Regions from separate parts of the Homo sapiens genome. Here region 2 is linked to region 1. Evidence: promoter capture Hi-C in human tissues and cell types (Jung and others, 2019). All regions are on one chromosome and are shown on one strand. The core of a region is centred on a gene start or on the middle of the fragment in contact, and the rest is flanking DNA. Distances in the headings are between cores, read along the strand shown. Region 1 holds the start of GHRH (growth hormone releasing hormone). Region 2 has its middle 70 kb from the start of NNAT.

Region 1 (7,375 bases), core at 3,474-5,973:
CAGCCACCTGCTCTGACTTCATTTTCTCCATCTGTAGAATGGGCGTGATGGAGCTCCCCTGCCAACCACATAGGGTTGAACCAAAAACCAGTGATAGTAGGGAAATTTCCCCTTGCCATAAGGTATTAGAAGTAGGATTTGGGCTCAGGCACAGTGACTCACGCCTGTAATCCCAGCACTTTGGGAGGCTGAGGTGGGCGGATCACCTGAGGCCAGGAGTTTGAGACCAGCCTGGCCAACCTGGTGAAATCCCATCTCTACTAACATTACAAAAATAAGACAGGAGTGGTGGCGTGTGCCTGTAATCCCAGCTACTCAGGAGGTTGAGGCACGAGAATCCCTTGAACCCAGGAGGTGGAAGTTGCAGTGAGCCAAGATCGTCCCATGCACTCCACGCTGGGTGACAAAGTGAGACCCTGTCTCAAAAAAAAAAAAAAAAAATTTAAATAAATAGAATAAATGGGATCCCTTAGCAAGGAATGGGGAAGGTCAAAGAACCTTCTCTCAGTGCCCCTCATTCAACCCCATCCAGTGTGGCAGTGAAAGCAGGCAGCAAGGGTAACTGCTCAGCTCTGAGTCAGACAAACTGGAAGTTCAAATCCTGGCTCTGCTGTCATTAGCTGTGTGTCCCAGGACAAGTGGCTTCACCTCTCTGAGCCTTATTTTCCCCGGCCATAAAACCAAGATAGTAACTAGACCTCCTACTTCGGCTCCTGGAAGGATCTGGTGAGGTAAGTGCCTGAACCAATAGGGAATTCTCTAGAAACCTTTGCTGTGTCTACCTAAGACCAACCCTCTCAGAGGGCAGGCTCTTCCTGTTTTAATTTTGTTTGGAGTTGGAGAGAGGGGAGAAGGGCTCTAAGTCTTGCTCCAGATGCTTAGATTTTGCTGAAGAGTTTTAGTCCTGGAAGAGACTGAAGAGCCGGGGGATCCAGTGTGGCGCAGTCATCTCATAGGTCCTGTAACTACCCTTAATTGGGGCCTGCGGACAGCATGCTCTGCAATTAGGGGAAAAACAGCCAGCAGGGGACAGAGCCCGCCTCCGCTGGGGCAAGTGCCACTGCTGTCAGCCCAGACCTGCCCAAGCATGGAAACACGGCTGGCCTCGGGGGACTTGGCCACCTAGGAATTGGGTCCTCCCATCTCCCATGGGTTTCTCCCTCTCTCAGCAGGATGTCTACTCCATGGGGGTGTAGATCCATCCAGAAGCCCAGCCAGCCCCGGAGGTGGCCAGCACCCCCGCCTTTCCCACAATCTCCTCACATGGCTTCCTTCTCTCCCACTCCTGGGTCCTGCTGAGGAGTTCTGGCAGGCAGGGCCAGCACTGGCAGAACCCACCTTGCTCTCCCGGCCCTCTCAGGGTATCACCCTCCTTTCTGAAGGCACTGAAGTCTCCTCTAACCCAGGGATGCCTTGGGCCCCCAGGCAGCACTCAGGGGGTCTGCTTACTGCAGCCTGAGACCCTGTACCTGCAGAGCTGGAGGGAGCAGCAGCCCAGGCCTCAGTGGTCAGCCCCTCCCTCCATGACATGAGCATCCCCACAACACGCACACTGGCTGTCCTCCACTTCCTGCTCGAGTGAGCACTTGCTGCCAGCGAATGACAGGGATCTCACTACCCCCAGGCCCGGGAGCTTATTTCCAGATGGTTCTTTATTTATTTATTTTGAGAGCGGGTCTCACTCTGTGGCCCAGGCTGAGGTGCAGTGGTGCAATCATAGCTCACTACAGCCTCAAACTCCTGGGCTCAAGCAATCCTCCTGCCTCAGCCTCCTGAGTAGCTGGGACAGCAGGCATGTGCCATCATGCCCAGCTAATTTTGAAATTTTTTGTAAAGATAAAGTCTCACTATATTGCCGAGGCTGGTTTCAAACCCCCGGGCTTAAGTGATCCCCCCGCCTCAGCCTCCCAAAGAGTTGAGCTTATAGGCATGAGCCACAATGCCAGGCCCAGGCAGTTCTTATTGTTAGGAAGTTTGTCTCACCATGTCAAGCCCAAATCTCCTTCTCCTGCAAATGTTTGTTAAGCCTCTACTGTTCCGGTAAGGACTGGGGCTAGAGAAAAGATGAGAACACGGGATCTACCCCGAGGGCTGGCTGTGTAACATCCGCCTGCTGGGCTGGAGCCTCTGCACCTACAGCCACACGACTGGTCCTTTAGATATGTTCCGCATGTCTGACTTAAGCTTTTGTTCCTCAGACCAAGGCTCGGCAGGCTTCCGTCCTCCTCATCGCACCATACCACGTCTGGTCCCCCTTCTCCCCACCTGGTCCAGGCTGCCTCTCCAGAAGTGGAATTTCCTAAGCCGAGAGATCTCTGGATGCAAGCAGGGCCCCTTGACAGAAACCACTGCCTTTTCTGTCTCCCAGCTGCAGCCTGGCTTTCTTGCCTTCTTTGCTGCTGATCTTTTAAAGATTCAGGCAGATCTAGGTCCCCAATCACCTCCCTCCCCTGCTCAGAAGCCCTTGGCTCCCCACTCCTTCCAGAATAAAGCTCAAACCCCTTCTCTTGGCTTAAGCTCTCCCTCTGCCTGCCCCTTCTCCCAAGGGCTGGCACAAGTGATTCCCAGCCCCTGTGCCCTATCAGGCTCCACAACCCATCCTTGCACTCTCCCTCTGGAGCAGGCATCCCCATGCTCCTCTTACAGCCAAGGAAAAGAGCCTAGAGAGGACAAGGACATTTTCCATGATCCTCCATCAAATTAGTTTTGGAGTGGGCACTTCAGAGTGGGCCTCCTCATTCCCAGGCCGGCAGACTTCCTTCCGCTCCATGCAGCAGCCTCCCAGGTACAATGCTCTATTCACAGTATTCCCCATTCACAGGGATCCTCAGCCTCCATCACCTGCACGTGGGAAAGGGTCTGAAAAAAAGGAAAGCTTCTTGCTCTTTGTTGTTGGGCCTCTGGGGAAGAAAGAACAGGGACAAACAGGAACACCTGCTTGATTGGCCCCTCCCTATGCACACCCAGTAGTTTCAGGGAGTTGAAACAACCTCATAGGAGGGCAGACTTTGGTGGGGAGGGCAAGTCATAGTAAACACAATACCCCGCTCATTCAAGATAAGGCTCAGCAACTGCACAAGTTAACCAAGAGGCTCAACATTTGCCACAAATCCTGTGCCCCAGGCATAGGTCAAGACCCCACAGCAACCTCTGAGCTATGAGAACCGAATCCATGGGTTTGCAGATCCCACTGGATGAAAATGGGAAACAAGAATTATCCAGTGTAGGGTAAGATAAGAAGAATAGAGGTTATGTCACTAAGGATAAAATAGCTCCAGCCTGAGCAACATGGCGAGACCCCATCTCTACAAAAAAAAAAACACACAAAACAAAACAAAAAAAAACTTATCTAGGCATGGTGGCGCATGCCTGTAGTCCCAGCTACTCTGGAGGCTGATGTGGGAGGATTGCTTGAGCCCGGGAGGTTAAGGCTGCAGTGATCCATGATAGTGCCACTGCACAGTAGCCTAAATGTCAGAGCAAGACCCCATCTCAAAGAATAAAATAAAATAGCTGTCAACAGACACATTCCACATGACAACTTAAGGAGTCAAAATTCACTGAATGAAGTGTAGCCGAGCCCAACAGCATTGCTGGCAACCCTGATGACTGAAGGCACTCCAGAGTTTATAATCTATCATTATGATCATCGGTTAGCTTCCTGCAGTGCTTACTGATTCTGGGATTAGATGTACTTGAGATTGCCTGGATTCAGGATAAACGGGCACTTGATCTACATCCGTTGGCACCTTTTGCCAGCTTTCATGCCAGGAATGCCAGGAGAATTCTGCAGATTCACCTGCAGCTGACAGAGGTCAGGTCTCAAGCACCCAAATTCGCAAGGCCATTTTTGAAAACCCAGGGAAAGAACATCTTTAACCTTCCTTGAATATCCCCCTTTGAAATTTGAGCACCCCAAAGCATAGACTTCCTGATCTGGTTTATAAACTGTTTCAGTGACAGCATTCCAAGTTAAAAGAAATCTAAGTTTTTAATGAGGAAGCATCTTGAACTGTCATTCAAAAGAGTGACACTCCACCTCCTTCCAGAAGGGGTTTGAGGCAGTCTATGGTGAAAGACACAAATACTTCAGGACCATTAAAGCAAGGATCAGGAGACAGGCGTGGGGTAGCGGAGGACTCCAAAGGCAGATAATTGTGTCTAAAACCTGGAGTAAAGAGTGTGGCTGCAATTGAGCAAGAAAGCAAAATGTTATCAATTTCCCGGCAATTACATTGAATCAGTTCTGAGTGATCAATGAGCAGTATTGATTTGCACAGCCACTTGGCTCATCTCTGATCCATGGCAGAATCCCATCGCTGACAGGAAAATCGAGCCAACTCACGTTTGCCCCCGAAGCCTGCCCACGCATCCTCGAAGGAGCACTGAGACCTCACCACCTGCGACAGACACCTGGAGCCAGTCCGCCACGCGCCCAAGTTAAGACAAGCCCCAAACAGCACCATCAAAAGCCTATTCCAGAGCCCCTATTGAGGGGTGATTTTATCCAGAGAGGGGCTCAAATGTACTCACCAGTCCATGGGCAAAGAGGATGGCGGTGGGCCTCTTGGACTCAGTGTTTCTAAGTTGGTGAGAAGGTTAACTTTTCTTACCCCCACCCAGCCTAGCCCCCCCAGGGCCACCCCTCTCACCTGATGCGGCAGATATCCCTCTGCTCCGAGGCACTGCTCAAATCCAGGGGCCCTGGGCTGGGTGTTTGCTCTGGCAGCCGCCTGGCGTTCCCATCATTTATCTCTTCATTTTCCTAAGCGTTGTCAGCGTCAGAGAATCAATTACCCACAAGTCAACCAAAGGACTGTTTTTAGCATCATATCACACTGACAAACCCTGTTGGTGAAAGAGGTTTGGCCCCTTGCAGACTTAGACTCCTGGTAAAGTCTCCTTTTATCTTTGGCACAGTGGACATAGTACAAAGGTGTAACATTATTCCAAGAGGATATAGAGAATATATACTGCTATAATAGTGATTGGAGAACTCGGCTGGGCGCGGTGGCTCACACCTGCCATCCTAGCACTTTGGGAGGCTGAGGCGGGTGGATTGCCTGAGCTCAGAAGTTTGAGACCAACCTGGGCAACATAATGAGACCCTGTCTCTAGAAAAAAATTAAAAATTAGCTGGGCATGTTGGCACATGGGTATAGTCCCAGCTACTCAGGTGGCTGAGGCAAGAGTGTCACCTGAGCCTGGGAGGCGGAGGTTGCAGTGAGCCAAGACCACGCTATGGCACTCCAGCCTGGGTGACAGAGCACGACTCTATCTCAAAATATATATTTTTTAAAAAAAGAAAAAATATGTGTTAAAAATAATTGGAGAACTCATAACAGTGAAACACCAAGAGTTTATTGATTCTCCAAGATAAATGTGCCTTTTCAAAAGTTCATATAATTTAGCTTTGTCCCTGTGTAATTTTATTTCACTTTTGGGTAGACAACATTATGAATAAGCGTTATTCTCTCCTTAGTGGGGAATTTGTTCCCTATCTCCCTTGTCGTCCAATTATCAGAATTCTGCACTATTTGATTTACACCTGCTTGGTCACAGGCTGATTTCAACAGCTAGCCTGGGGGCATCCGTCGTCACCTGTCAAGGCAGCCAGACATTGGCAGTTGCCTCAGAGAAGTGTGAAATGAGAGGGAAGAGATGGAAAACCTTGGGAGAGTTGTTGTGTTTCCAGATTTCTCTAGCCTATAGCTAAGAAATCCTCAGGAATGACATAAAAGCACAGGAGGCAGAAGCTCTGGTTTCCCAGGCGGCCGTCGTGGAGGTGTGGAAAGAGCTCCAAGCCTCGAGTCTAGGGACCTGCTGCCTCTCCCAAGCCTGTCAATCATGACCTCTGTGACCCTTAGGAAGTTACTTCTACCTGGCTGGGTGCAGTGGCTCACACCTGTAATCCCAGCACTTTGGGAGGCTGAGGCGGGTGGATCATGAGGTCAGGGGTTCGAGACCAGCCTGACCAACATGGTGAAACCCCGTCTCTACTAAAAATACAAAAATTAGCTGGGTGTGGTAGTGGGCACCTGTAATCCCAGCTACTCAGGAGGCTGAGGCAGGAGAATTGCTTGAACCCGGGAGGTGGAGGTTGCAGTGAGCCGAGATCGTGCCACTGCACTCCAGCCTGGGCGACAGAGCGAGACTCTGTCTCAAAAAAAGAAAAAAAACTTCTACCCTCCGGGCCTCAGTTTCTACCTGGAAACTTGAGAGTTGACATAGAACAGCAACTTTCAAACTATTTTTTTGAGAGGGATCCTATCTTTGCCACCCAGGTTGGAGTGCAGTGGCATAATCTCGACTCATTGCAACCTCCACCTCCCGGGTTCAAATGATTCTCCTGCCTTAGCCTCCAGAGTAGCTGGGATTACAGGTGCGTACCACCACGCCTGGCTAAGTTTTGTATTTTAGTAGAGATGGGATTTCACCATGTTGGCCAGGTTGGTCTCAAACTTCTGACCTCAGGTGATCCACGTGCTTCTGCCTCCCAAAGCACTGGGATGACAGGTGTGAGCCACCACACCCAGCCCAAACATTTTTTAAAAAGTAGCAAAACTCTTTCTTTGGAAACCTACAGAGACAGGTTTTTAATATGGGGCTACTCTGGTTGAAGAGGGGGAAGTGGAGACCCCCTTGCCTATCCCTGAGGTACCTCGATGGGTCACAATTACAAGCCAGTAATTTCCAAGAGTCCCCTTAGCAACACTATTTTGTGGTTCTCCTTCTTAGCCTGCACTGAGCCATGTTCTTGGCATCTAGCAAATATGAGATGTTTCTCATAGAAGCAAGGCTTGAGTGGTATGTCACCTTGCTGGCCAGGATACGAAGTGGTCAGGTCAGGCCAGATCCCCAAGGATTAAGAATGGGCTGATAGTGGCCAGGTGCGGTGGCTCATGCCTGTAACCCCAGCACTTTGGGAGGCCGAGGCAGGCGGACTGCCTGAGCTCAGGAGTTCGTGACCACTCTGGGCAACATGGTGAAACCCCGTCTCTACTAAAATACAAAAAAATTAGCTGGGTGTAGTGGCATGTGCCTGTAATCCCAGCTACTGGGGAGGCTGAGGCACAAGAATAGCTTAAGCCCCAGAGGCAGAGGTTGGTGTGAGCCGAGATGGCGCCGCTGCACTTCAGCTTGAACAACAGAGTGAGACTCTGTCTCAAAAAAAAAAATAAATAAAAACAGGGCGTGGTGGTTCACGTCTGTAATCCCAGCACCTTGGGAGGCTGAGGCGGGCGGCTCACGAGGTCAGGAGATCGAGATCATTCTGGCTAACATGGTGAAATCCCGTCTCTATTAAAAATACAAAAAATTAGCCGGGCGTGGTGGTGGGTGCCTGTGGTCCCAGCTACTCGGGAGGCTGAGGCAG
Region 2 (7,375 bases), core at 3,554-6,053, 190 kb after region 1:
TCCAGCATCTCCCCTCTCATCCTGCAGCTGTGCTGAGCAGGGTCATGGGAGGCCCTGGGAAGCCCCCTGTCCTCCTCAAAAGAGTCCTTGCTAAGCTCTTCCTGGGGGCCCCTGACCTATTGGGCGAGGATTCTGTGTCCGGAGCACCCAGATATATGTGTGTTGGGCAACTTTCCCCACCCCCAGGCTGTGAGCACCTTGAGGGAAGGACCTGCATCTGATTTGTCTTTGCTGAATGGCTATGACTATGGCAGAGGCCGGAGGGACAGACGAACTGAGGACAGACGGACTGAGGAGAGCGCTCCTTCCTCCTCACTCTCGTGTTCCCTTTTTTCCTTCCATTTTCTTCCTCTCCTAATTAAAAAATTAGTTTTTAATTATGTGTGGTACATGAAGCAATTATTTTTGCACAAAATTTTAAAAATTTTTTGTGCTTTCACAAAATTAAAGCATGACAAAAGGCTGAAGTCTCTTCTCTCTCCCTCCCGCTTCCCACCTCCAATTCCCCCAAAAAGGGGAACCTCTGTGGCCAGTTCTGTGTGACCCTGTCCACACAGCCTATATGTGTCCTCTCATCTAAATAAAACAGAGCTGCATTTGGTGGTGGTGGGGTGTTGTTTAAAATATAAATACCATTTACTCTGTGTAAATTTTGCCAATAGCTTTGTCTGTCCAGTGATGAGTCTTCGAGTTCTTTCCACGAACATGTGGGTGCACCGTCATTGGTGTGCAAGAGCCAAAGTGGGCACCTCTTCCTCATCCTGCTCAGCGATGGCACGATGCTAGCCTGAAATTGGCCATGGTGGTAGTATTTACACTACAGAAGCGGGCACAAGCAACCCATAGGGAACATTCTCCCCAGAGGGCCAGTGTGCAAGCATACCCCAGGATGCACCCTGTTTCACAGATCTGGGTCTTTCGGGAGAGAGCTGCACTGTGGGTGACCAGCTCTCCTGTGGATGGACATGGGTGTTTTCCCCTTTTCACCATGACAGATAATGTCACCACAACCTTATCTGTCACCGATTCCTCTTCTGCCTTGCCCTCTGCTGGGTTCTGGTGTGGTGGGGCGGTGGGGCGGAGGGGTCCTCAGAATTCGTCTACAGTATGTGGGTTCTTTTCTGTCTGTCCATGGAATGTGCTGCCTCTTCAGGTCTCTGGGAGTCTGTCTCTCTCCTTCCTTCCTTCATCTTTCCTCATCCTCTCCCTCGTTTCTTCTCCTCCTCTCCAGATTTGGCCCTTGCCCCAAGGGTCACGATCTGTGGCTGCTTCTGTGTGGAGGTGTGGGTCCCACTGTGCACCCCTCTATTTAGGCCCTTTGTCAGGCTTGTCCTCCCCCGTCTTTCCCTCCTCTTCCATGTGCACGCATCTCTGCATCTGCCTGCGTCTCAGCTCCCCGAGGGTCCTGCCGCCCCCTCTTCATTTCATTTTTTAACTTTATTATTGATGTGCCCCGCCAACACTGCCTCTTCCTGCATCTTGCTCAGCCTCGCTCCCTCTCGCTCTCCAGAGGAGGCTTATTGGATTTTGCTTCAAGTCTGTGCGTCATTCCTGCTCTGTGCATGTGTGCGCACATGTTCGTGCGTGTGTGTGCCTACCACTTTCCCCGTCAGCTCCCTCTCTCTCTTTCTGGGGCTTGGAGAGTTTTACTCTATGTGTGTGTGCACAGGTGCACATGTGTGTGAGTCACTTCTCTGTAAGGTATGGTCAGGGCTGGGTCCCACCCTCCCTGTCACTCTCATGAACTCCATCTATCCACAACATGCCTGGTGAGCTCTGGACCAAGGTTTGTCCATCTGTCCTCTCCTGTTCTCTTCTTTCCCTCCTCTTGCGCTGCACCTGCCCTCTGCACAAGAGGTGCCCCTTATGCACCTTGGGCATAGAGGCCTCTGTAAGGACATCCCCCAATCTCCTTCTGCGTCTGAAAATCACCCACCTTCATTCTCTGTTGCATGCCACAGATTTGGGGCCAGTGTTGACTGGGGCCCTCCAGAGGTACCTCAAACTCATCTAATCATCTCTGCACTACAAACTGGCCCCTTTCCTGTTCTCATTAACACTGAATGTCAGTGCCTTCCTCGGTGTGGTGCTGCAGCCAGGAGCCCTGCATCGTCTCTGACTACTCCTGTTTAGCCACCCACAGCCCATCTGTTCCCCCTCCCTGCCAACTCTTTCTCCGAGGGGCTGCTAAAGGCCCCCATTCTCTCAGTCCCTGCTGCAGCATCGTGTGGAGATGAGGGGATAATTGTCTTCCTTTGTCCATCCATTCATCCATCCATCCATCCATGCATGCATTCATCCAACCATCCATCCATCCATCCATCCATCCATCCATCCATCCATGCATCCATCCATCCATCCATCCATCCATCCATCCATCCATCCATCCATCCATGCATCCATCCATCCATCCATCCATCCATCCATCCATCCATCCATGCATCCATCCATCTATGCATCCATCCATCCATCCATCCATCCATCCATCCATCCATCCATCCATACATCTACCCACCCATCCATACATGCATCCCTCCATCCATCCATCCACCCATCCACCCTTCCATCCATACATCTACCCATCCATCCATCCATCCATCCACCCATTCCTCCATCCATCTGTTCATTCATCCATTCATTCAGCCATCCATCTGCCCATCCACCCATTCACCCACCTATCCATCCACCCATCCATACATATGTCCACCCACCCATTCATCTGCCTACTCTTTCATCCATCCATCCATCTATATATCCATCCATCCATCCCTCCCTCCTACCACCTGACATACATTGAGCACCTGAGTGCTCTGTTGAAGACAAAGACTCCAAAACCCCGGGCTGTGTTCTAAGGAGTCCAGGGGGAGAGAGGACCAGTTACCACCCATGGGAAGATGGGGTGATAGGGACTTTGGAAGTCTCCAAGCATCACCGTGTGTGTTCTTGCATGTGCATATATGCATGTGTTTGCTCTGTCTTGGCCACTTTCTCAGACCCTTCTCTTTCCTCCTGATCTCTACTATCAGTGCTCCCCAGGGCTGTGTCCTCACCCCTCTGCCCTTGTCCTTCCATGGGCCATACTATCCACACCAGGGCTTCAGAGGTCCCTGCACACAAACTCCTCTGCATTTCTGTGCTCATCTCCCCTCTCCCAGACCTGTATACTCACTGTCCTGTCCTCAGCCCCACTCAGTCATACTCCCAGCATCATACACTCCCCAGGCTCCAAACAACCTCCCTCCTCTCCAGGCTTCATCTTATGCTCTCATCCTCCATCTCCAGGGACAGAAATCCAGGCTTCCCCTTCTCCCCACCTCCTTCCTTTAAACTTGTGCTGACTCTTTCTCCCAAATCTCCCATCTCCTCCTTTGCTCCTTTCATCCCATGGCCAGCATGGTTGCCCTGGTGACAGCCATCCTCTTCCCTCCTTCTGAGTCTGCTTTCCAGCATGAGAGATGTGTTCTGGTGACCTGTTCCTCCCATGCTCTGTCTTCTCTCTCTGTCCATCTGCAGAAAATCTGGGAAAGGGACCCTTGGCTTTACTTGCTTCCATTCCCAGCCCACGCATACCCCATCCTTGGCAAGGGACCTCAGCCACATTGAGCCCACCATGGTTCTCAAGAGAGCTCTCCATAGACCTCCTTCTTGCCAAAGCCCATGGTCCCTTTTTCCTCCTCATTTCTCCTGGCCCATTGGGGTCCTGATTGGGGTGCCCATCCTTGCTTGGGAGGCCACTGTCTCCTCCTTCAGGACACTGGGTGCTCCTGGCTTTTCTCCCACCCATTGGGCAGTTTCTCTCTTCCATCCACCTCTCAATACTGATGCTTCCCAGAGCTCAGTCCTCCACCGCTTCCTGCCCTGCCCGTTCCCCAAGGGCAGCTTCCTCCACCCCCAGGACATCTGTGGCCACCCATTGTCCTTCTTGGACATAGAGCTCTCTCCTGAACTGGGACTTGCACATCCATGTACCTGAACACAGGACTAGACACTTCCCTGCCCTTCCCACACTGCTCTTCTTTTCTCCAACCTCCTCACCTGCCCAGCTCCCCATCCTCAGCACAAGTAGACCAAGTCTCAGGCACTTTCTTGACTCCTTCTGACCACATCCAGTCCCACCATAGGGCTGTGCCTCCAGCACACCACCACCATCCCATCTGGGTGTCAGCTCCCAGGGCCTCCCGGGTTTCCCATCTCCAGCCTTGCCCCTTCCTGTCTACACTTGGTGAGGCCACCCAAGCCACCTTTCTAAATCTCCCACTTGGCAGCTCACCCTTCACTGGCCTAACCCCACTAAGCCAGCTTCCCCACCTCCCCACCCTCCTGATAAACTTCAAGCCAATTTTTCCTGCTTTAAGGCTCTGGGCAAGGCCAAACCCTCACACTCTTGGTGACTTATCCTTCTGCCCTGTCTCCAGTCACAAGGAACCTCTTGCAGTGCAGAAAGACTCACCCTCTCCCCACCTTCTGGCCTTTGCTCAAGCTGCCCTTGGCAGGAACGCCTCTCACCTGTCTGCCTGGCACACAGCAAGGCTTCTCTTGGCTCAGGCACTTCATCCTCCCTGATGAAGTCCCAGGGCCTCTCCCCTGAAAGCCCCCATAGCATCACAGGATCACACCCCTGGGAACAGCCAGGCACATGCATGTGTTTGGGGGGATCTTTCCCGCCAGACCACGGGCATCTTGAGAGCCTGCATCTGAGTTCTCTCTGAGTGTCAGCACAGAGGAAGGCTGAGGAATGTCTGAAGCTGGAGGAACTTCAAGTTGAAAAAAAACACTAAAATTTCAGGAAGGAAGGACTAAAGTCTCCTTTGAAACCTCCTCCCAAATCCTGATTTCTACTTATTTTCCCACATGGATCCTCAGTTATTAGACTGATGTGAATTATACTGGTAGCTAGCTAGCTAGATGATTGATAGGAAGGAAAAAGGAAGGAAGGAAGGAAGGAAAGAAGAGAAAACTTGTTCTATTATTGTTGGTTTGGTTATTGTTGTTTGAACATAAATACTACACACTGTGCATGTGATTTGGCAGTGGCCTTCCTCATTCAGCAATGTGTCTTGGGTCTGCTTCCATGTCAGAGTTTAGGTGCATCACATTCTTTTATCAGATGCACAATGGCCGAGCTGGCTTCCTCCTGCCGATGAGCATGTTGGTGTCCCTGCTCTTTTGGTGAGGTGGTAGCAGCTTCTGTGCATGGCCTCTTTCTGTGTCTCACTCTAGGGTCCCCAGTGTGTGATCAGGCTGCCGTGTGCCTGCTTGTCTGTCTGTCTGTGTGTGCACACATCTGCCTCTTTGCCTCTCTGAATCTCTCTCCTTCCTTTTCCCATTCTCTCTCATTATTCCATATTCCCTCTAGATTTGGTCCCCATGTTGCAACACAACTGTGTTTGTGTGTCTCACCCTGGGTCACATCTGTGGGTTCCTCTTTACTTGGAGCCTTTTCTCCTTCTGATTCTCATTCACTTGGTGACTTCTCACCCCTGTGCATCCACTTGCTCTGCCATCCATTCATCCACCCACTTTGGACATTGAGCATCTTCCAGGAGCTGGACAGCTCCCATACGTGAGTCAGTGTGTGTGCCCCCTCTGTGTACTGCCCCTGGGTCTCTGCCTGTCTGTGGGCCTGTCTCTCCGAGCCCCCTTCTCCCACCCCTGCCTTCATCCTCCTCAGCTGCACTTCCTTCTGCTCTCCAGAGGAAACTTATGGAATTTGCTCTGTCCACGCATCATTCCTGCTGTGTGTGTGTGTACTTGTGTGTACGTGTAAGTGGGTCATCTCTTTCTGAGGCATGGTCAGGGTTGGCTTCCACTCTCTGTCACTCTCATGGACATTTCATCTGCTTGCCTCTCCATCCAGCCATCTGTAGCATGCTCAGCTAACTCTGGGGCAGGGTCTTCCTGTCTGGTCTGTCTTCCTTTCCTTCTCTTTCTCTCACTCCTCACACACTCCCCGGATGAACTCATCCCCTGCCCTCTGTGCTGACATCTCCCTAACTGCTCCTGCAACCAAGACTCCCCACCTTTTTCTCTTCTTCGCAAGCCACTAGATTCCTCCCCAGGAGAATCCAACCCATTGCATCATCTTCACACCCTGAGATGTGTTTCTCTTCCAGTTCGCATTAGCACTGAGCCCCGCTGCCTGCCTCAGGCTGCAGTGGGAGACTGAGCCATCTCTAACTCCTTCTGCTGCCCACGGCACATCTGTCCCACTTCCTGCCAAGTCTCTTTCCAAGGGACCACTCTGAGACCCTTCTAACCCCAATCCCTTCAGCCCCTCTCTCTGGCCAGGCCCCAGCATCCTGTGCTTGGACAACTGAAGAGGCTTCCTCCTTTGTTGTCCATCCTCCACTCCCACCCCCTCTTCATCCTCCATTAACCTCTGGAAGAATCATGAATCACCTTTGCTTAAATCCTCCCATAGCTTCCATGTCACTCACAGTAAAAGTTAATATTCTCACCATGGCCCACAGGCCTTACCCAGTCTATTTCCTGTTACCTCTCTCCTTTCATCTCCCACTCCTTTCCCCCTTGCTCATGTTGCTCCAGCCACATGGGCTTCCTTGGTGTTCCTTGAGCAGACAGACACCAGGGCTGTCACCTATGGTTGTTCATGGCATGAGGGCACCTGGCAGAGGATGTCAGTGGAGGACAAAACCCAGCCCTTGTTCTGTTCTCCAAGCCATGAGCCCTGGTTTGGGGTTGCCTCTGCTTAGAAGAAAGATTGTCTATTTCTTTTAAATATATAGATAGAAAAGACCTTTAGCATTCTTGCTTACTTGTTTCATTATCTGTTATTTTGGGATCTGTTTCTATTTACTGATTTTTCTCCTAGTTATGAGCTACAATTTTTGGTTCTTGGCCTGTCTAGGAATTTTTGATTGGATGCTGGACATTGTAAATGTTACACTATTGATGGTCTGGAATTGTGTTGTCTTCTGTTAAAGAGTGGCATGCAGTTAAATTACTTGCTAATTACTTTGATCATTTTGAGGCTTATTTTTAAGCTCTTTTAGGGTGGGTCCACAGTAGCCTTCACTTATGGGATAGTTCCTAACCTGTGTGACTTCTAGGAATTGTTCAAATTAAAATGCTTCAGTCTTTCTTTGCCTGGCCTCAGGGAATTTCACCCTACACACCTGAAGCCTTGCACATGGCAGTGATTCAAGAGGACACATGTAGATTTCTGGAGCTGTTTTTCTTCCTTCAGTCAGGTACTCTGCCCCTCAACTTACAGCCACCTAAGCCTACCTGAACTTTGTTCTTGGTCTCAAAGATCAACTCAGCAATACTGCTGGACTCTATTTGAATTTCCCCTCCCTGCACCTAAGATGCCTCCAGACAGAAAGCTGGGTGAACTGTAGAGCTAACTTGATTT

What was found. The method cuts DNA at HindIII sites, captures the fragments that hold promoters and counts their contacts. A contact is called where the count stands out against the background at its distance.
Region 2: a fragment that was not itself captured here is called in contact with the fragment with the promoter of GHRH in region 1 in 2 of the 25 tissues and cell types used here (IMR-90 fibroblasts and lymphoblastoid cells).

Annotation. Positions count from the first base shown.
Region 1 is chr20:37,257,091-37,264,465 of GRCh38, forward strand. It overlaps GHRH (growth hormone releasing hormone), which reads right to left and starts at 4,724. Exons shown (of 5, transcript NM_021081.6): 1 at 4,653-4,724. RefSeq lists a silencer at 909-1,142. The HindIII fragment of the contact is 8,848 bases long and covers 2,530-7,375 here.
Region 2 is chr20:37,447,932-37,455,306 of GRCh38, forward strand. No RefSeq gene overlaps it. Among named protein-coding and RNA genes, the nearest start is that of NNAT, 70 kb to the right of the region's middle. The HindIII fragment of the contact is 6,428 bases long and covers 1,590-7,375 here.